2 separate regions of the Homo sapiens genome follow, and region 1 is linked to region 2. The links are contacts of gene promoters, found by promoter capture Hi-C in human tissues and cell types (Jung and others, 2019). All regions are on one chromosome and are shown on one strand. Each heading gives the region's core, a stretch centred on a gene start or on the middle of the fragment in contact. The rest is flanking DNA. Distances are from core to core; before and after follow the strand shown.

Region 1 (2,956 bases), core at 332-2,831, 580 kb before region 2:
TTATATTGAGCTATGATTGTGCCACTGCACAGCAGCCTGGGCAATAGAGTGAAACCCTGTCCAAAAAAGAAGAAAAAAATGTGTGTGTATGTGTGTATATATACATATATATATACATATATATATGTACACACACGGAAGTTACAAAAATAGAGGTTCAATGATCTGTAATACATCTTTTAACAAAAACATTTAATATTTATCTACTTACATACAGTAATTAAGAATGAATAGTTTAAACAGATTATTGCATTTACATAGCATTTTCCTGTTTTCAAAAACCATTTCCATATTTAGTACTCAGGAAACATGGTAAACAGATATTACCGTTCCCATACTATGGGTTAAAAAACTGAGATTTAGAGATTTAATTTGCCAAATTGCATTATGAGAGGAAATTTAAGTGGAGGGATGATTCCTCTACTTCTACATGGAAATAAAGCAATTAGTTGGATGTTCCAGAGCAAAAGAAAAGCCTCAGACTTCTTTATGGGCTGAAAGGAGACAGAACATCCATAAACTCATGCTGTCTTCAAAAGCAGTATTTGAGCTTTTGAAGTGGTGGCTCATGCATGCAATCCTAGCACTTTTGGGAGGCGGAGGTCAGAGGACAGCTTGAGCCCAGGAGTTGGAGATCAGCCTAGGCAACATGGCCAAACTCAGTCTCTACAAAAGAGATACAAAAAAAAAAAAAAAAAAAATTAGGCATGGTGGTGCATGCCTGTAGTCCCAGCTACTTGGGAGGCTGAGGTGGGAGGATCATCTGAGCTGGGAAGGTTGAGTTTGAAGTGAGCTGAAATTTTGACACTGCACTCCAGCCTGGGCAACAGAGTGAGACCCTGTCTCAAAAAAAAAAAAAAAAAAAGGCAACATTTACTGGGACCTGCCTGCCCACCTCTAGTAGCTTTAATACTATTCATAAAAAAATGAACATTCACGTTGTTTTGCATCTCCACCTACTATTAAATGTGCAAGCAAAAACAGGACCTATGAAGAGCAAAATGAGACTGTTTTTTCTGAGTGGCAAACCTAAGAGTCTTCTCAACCTCTTGATGATTTACCATTGTTGAGATTATTCCTTAACAAGAAAACACTTTTAAAAGAATTTCCTCCCAAAGCTTATTTGCCAGATTCCATAAATTAGCTGCTACAAATGTTCTGTATCAGAGAAACTCAAACCCAGTAAGAGGCTTCTCTTCCAATGTACGAAAAAGGCACATTTCAATACACAATGCTGGCCACACTATTTTAGATAATGATGGAAAACAACAGCTGATAGCCAGTTTGGGACACATGCCAACTGTTCCCATTTGTCTGAAAATGCTAAAATTAATTGCTGTAACACTCAGTTTTTAAAGAAAATTGTTATTGATAAATGAGAAAGTATTACCAACTAAAATCCTGAAAAACAGAATAAAGATAATGATGCCTCTTTGATCTGAAATACCAGTTTTTAAACTTTTAATGTTCTGAAGTATAAGTAAACACATCTCAACAGCTTTACATATTTTCATATATTTTATTTTTTAAACTCTCATAACTTTGCAAGCTAGCAGTAAAATATTGCCTTCAATATTTTACTAATTAGCACCGTATACCTTTTAAAGCTAACTGGAACATTGATTCATTATAAATGATTGTAAAATAAAATGATCATTTCAAATGCCAAATTAATCTCAAATAACAAGTGAACTATTATTAATTTTATCTCTTTTTTTGGCTCTACGCACAAAGATGTATTTCAAAGATGAACTTAATTATATTAGTATCAGTTTTGTCAATCTAGCAAATCAAAGTATCACAGTTTAAAGCAATATTTAATCTCTGAAATTACTAGAGGCATACAAGAAAGTTAAGGAATCAGCTACAAAAACAAAAGATACTACATAACTGATTTATAGTCCCTTATTTTTTAAAAGAATGAGGAAATAACTCAATGAAAAATTCCATGGTGCCAAGTATCAGTTACACATATGGTTAAGTATACGTCAGTATTCTCTGTTTTGCTTATCAGAGTTTGGCCTTACCAAAAACCATCGAAATGTCCAGGATAACTCACAGGGACAGCTGGAAGCCTGAAATAAAATTGCTCAGTGCAAAAAGATCCCAAACCATTCATATAATTTTAAATGGAAGCCTAGACATTTAATCCCTATTTTTAATGTTCACATCTGAAAAATCTTTCAAAAATATGGAAAAAATCTAATTATACTAAAATTACTTCCACACATTCAAAAAAAATTTTTAAGGGATATTTTCTTTCCTGTTTTCTGCTAAAAGCATTCCTCTGAGCTATGGGGTTAAGTTCTGAGCCACGACTGACTGCTTACTAGCATGCCTGTTTTGCATACCAGTAGAATCAAGTCCAGTTTTGCCATTTGTGGATAACTATGACAAGATACAAAAGCATGTGTTTGCCATAAATAGCCCTGGCTAACAGCAAACCGCTCACACTGAGCAGATCAAATTCTCTATAAGGAGCACAGTCTGGACCATAGCCAAATCCCACTACTAATGTTTAAGACTGCTATTATCAATTCCTATTCCAATTCAATTTGCAAAATATATTCAGAAATAGTAGGTGAAATGACTGTTCCGAAACATCAGAAGTATCATTAAACTTTTAAAGGACATTTTACAAATTATTTTCATTACGACCAAATAAGCAATAAGAGCTTCCTGCTTCTACTATACAACTACTTAGAAATGTAAATGTGAATAAAAAAATAACTATGCTAATTTATCCAGAGAACAAATCAGATATTGAAAAGTATTTATGCCAAAGTGCAAAAAATAATTTCTGATCTTCATATTAACACATAGGAAATAAATACACTAATGTTTATAAAAGTACCATTCTTTAACAATGGTATTTTATATTAGTTGGCCTTAAGATAGAATACTTTTTAAACCAAATAGATCCAACAAATCTGGAAAATATCACACATGAATGCTG
Region 2 (2,975 bases), core at 157-2,656:
TTTCAACCTCAGTTCCACATTTTTTTTTTTTTATTTAGATAGATCTTCCTCTGTCGCCCAGGCTGGAGTGCAGTGGCGTGATCATAGCTCACTGCAACCTGGATCTCCTGGGCTCAAGCCATCCTCCCACCTTAGCCCCCCGAGTAGCTGGGACTACTGGCGCGCGCCACCACGCACAGCTAATTTTATTTTTTGTAGAGACGGGGCCTTCCTATGTTGGCCAGGCTGGAGTTAGGCTTTCTTTCTTTTTTTTTTTTTTTGAGACGGAGTCTCGCTCTGTCGCCCAGGCTGGAGTGCAGTGGCATGATCTCGGCTCACTGCAAGCTCCGCCTCTCCGGTTCACGCCGTTCTCCTGCCTCAGCCTCCCAAGTATATGGGACTACAGGCGCCCGCCACCACGCCTGGCTAATTTTTTTTGTATTTTTTAGTAGAGACGGGGTTTCACCGTGTTAGCCAGGATGGTCTCAATCTCCTGACCTCGTGATCCGCCCGCCTTGGTCTCCCAAAGTGCTGGGATTACAGGCGTGAGCCACCGCGCCCGGCCTCCGCTTTCAAGACTAAAAATTGCCTGGGCACTGTGGCTCAAGCCTGTAATCCCAGCACTCTGGGAGGCCGAGGAAGGTGGATCACTTGGGCTCAGGAGTTCGAGAGCTGCCTGACCAACATGGCGAAACCCCGCCTCTACTAAAAATACAAAATTAGCCGGTCCTGGTGGCACACGCCTATAATCCCAGCTACTCGGGAGGATGAGGCAGGAGAATCGCTTGAACTCAGGAGGGGGAGGTTGCAGTCAGCCGAGATCGCGCCATTGCACTCCAGCCTGGGCAACAAGGGCGAAACTCTGTCTCAAAAAAAAAAAAAAAAAAAAAAAAGACTAAAAATTGTCGGGGCTGCTGGCCAAAAGAAGATCTTGCCTGGCTGTCAGAAAATAATGTTCTTTCCAGCGGCTGCTTGAACCCGCTTCCTTCAGTGCCTAAATTTAACGGCTGCAGCTGCAGCTGCAACCTGTTTCCCCCGTAATAGGAATGAAAGTGGAGGATAAAAGAGGTTAGGAAGAAGGCAAGCCAGCAGTCTGACCAGACACAGGATGCATGTAAGAGACTTGTTAATTACACGTTCTATTTAGGTCACACTGATAGGCAAATCGCTATTCTGGGCCCCCAGGAAGCCTTTTCGTCCTTGCTATAGTCAATTCATTCTCCAGATGAAAGCCTGAAAGCGCCACGACCCAAGTTTCACGTCTATCCACTCAAGAGGCCTGCTTGGCGCAGGCGCATACCTTCAAAGGCCTCCCGCCCTCACTCCACCACCCCCTTAGGGGGCGGGGCCTCAGAGCTCAGTGCTCGAACTGGCTCCAGAGCCGTGAGTTCGGCATGCAAGAGCGGAAGAAACGCGGCTGGTACCCCGGAAGCAGTCGCTGCAACTTCCGGGAGGTGCTTGTGTGCCTGGTGCGGGAGCTACGGGGCCCAGGGATTGTGTTTAAAGTAGTGCTTCTACCAACATGTCCCGTGGTTCCAGCGCCGGTTTTGACCGCCACATTACCATTTTTTCACCCGAGGGTCGGCTCTACCAAGTAGGTGAGTGAACCAGGTTCGCCTGTGGGCCACCTGAATTGCCCTGTCATGGTACGTGCCTGGAGCGAGCAGACGCGGCCCGGGTTTAGTCTGGGGCCGAAGCTGGGCTGGAGCTGGGAAGGGAGAACGGCTGAAGCTGGATTGAGCTCTGTGGTGTTTGCACCCCCGTCTGGACGCAGGGATCGGGGGCCTGAAGGCCTGTCTCTGCAGGGCGAGCGGCCACACTGCGTAGACCCAATGGAGAGTTAAGGAAGATAGGGCTGTAATGCCTGACTCCGGCTTCGTGAGGCCCCTTCAGTTATTGTATTCTGTCCTGGCCAGGCACAAGGTCTGTTTCTAAAGGGTAATTGATTCCTTAACGTCTCAACTAAAATGCCTCCTCTCCGTTTTCCTTTGTTTGCAGCATGGACTTCTGTGGTTAATTCCACACAGGCACTCGAAGCCTGCTATATACCAGACACTGCTAGTCCTAGGAGATACAAATGTGAATGTTACACCCTCTTCTATACTGAAGCTCACAGCTTAGAGTGACAGATACGTTAAACAAACGGATAAAAAAAATTAAAAGTGCCAATTTACAAATATCTACAGAGTTCAAGACATCTTTGGGAATCTGATAGAATGAGTGACTCAATTCTAGAGCTGCTCTTGAGATTGGCATCCCCTTTTTACCCACATCTGTTTGAATGCTCCTGTAATTTAAATGCCGATTCTGAGTTGTAGATGAGGTACTGTGTACTAGTTTACTGAAGAACACCTGTAGTGGAAAGAAACTATCAGTTACTCGGAATAGTAATGTATTGCGCTGAAACGGTGTCAAGGTTTAGGTTATGATTATAAGCCAGACCCTTGATCTCTTACCATAGAGAATTTAGTGTCAGGAGGGCTTGATTTACATCTGGTCCGTGATGGTTTTATTTTTGAATGAGTTTAGTGGCTCCGTGTCTTGCACAGTAATATAATCATCTGTGCTTGGAATCATAAGGAGAGAGTTGGTCTGTAAATGAGGTTCTCTTCACCTGTAAATTTTAGAAATAGAGTTAAAGATAACTTGGAATGAAACTGCTCAGTGTATTACTGCATAGTGTATATAATGTAGCAAGAAACATCTTGTTGGATAATTCAGTAGCCCTTTTAATTTATCCCCAATTGAAAAACATGATTAAAGATAGAACAAAGAGATAACTGTATCCTCAAAGAATTTTCATTTATTGTATTAAATTCCTGAGTTTTAAATAATTTTCGTATATTAGACTACTGCTTTCAGCGTTCCATTCGTGATTTTTAATATGTGAACAGGAAAAGTCACTCTGAGACCTTTACTTTGTTTCTATATACTGTATTGTGAAGTCCAGCCATAAAGCATAATCGTTAATGCTTCCCAGATTTGGTGAGTGGAAA

Evidence for each region. The method cuts DNA at HindIII sites, captures the fragments that hold promoters and counts their contacts. A contact is called where the count stands out against the background at its distance.
Region 1: a contact is called between a fragment that was not itself captured here and the fragment with the promoter of PSMA6 in region 2, in 1 of the 25 tissues and cell types used here (dorsolateral prefrontal cortex).

The regions. Positions count from the first base shown.
Region 1 is chr14:34,708,942-34,711,897 of GRCh38, forward strand. It overlaps CFL2 (cofilin 2), which reads right to left. Exons shown (of 4, transcript NM_138638.5): 4 at 172-2,956. Among named protein-coding and RNA genes, the nearest start is that of CFL2, 4.2 kb to the right of the region's middle. The HindIII fragment of the contact is 3,096 bases long and covers 34-2,956 here.
Region 2 is chr14:35,290,976-35,293,950 of GRCh38, forward strand. It overlaps PSMA6 (proteasome 20S subunit alpha 6), which reads left to right and starts at 1,407. Exons shown (of 7, transcript NM_002791.3): 1 at 1,407-1,577. The coding sequence starts at 1,502. All of the region lies in intron 9 of PRORP-PSMA6 (PRORP-PSMA6 readthrough), which reads left to right. RefSeq lists enhancers at 1,108-1,694, 1,411-1,490, 1,611-1,730, 1,811-1,870. The HindIII fragment of the contact is 27,585 bases long and covers 1-2,975 here.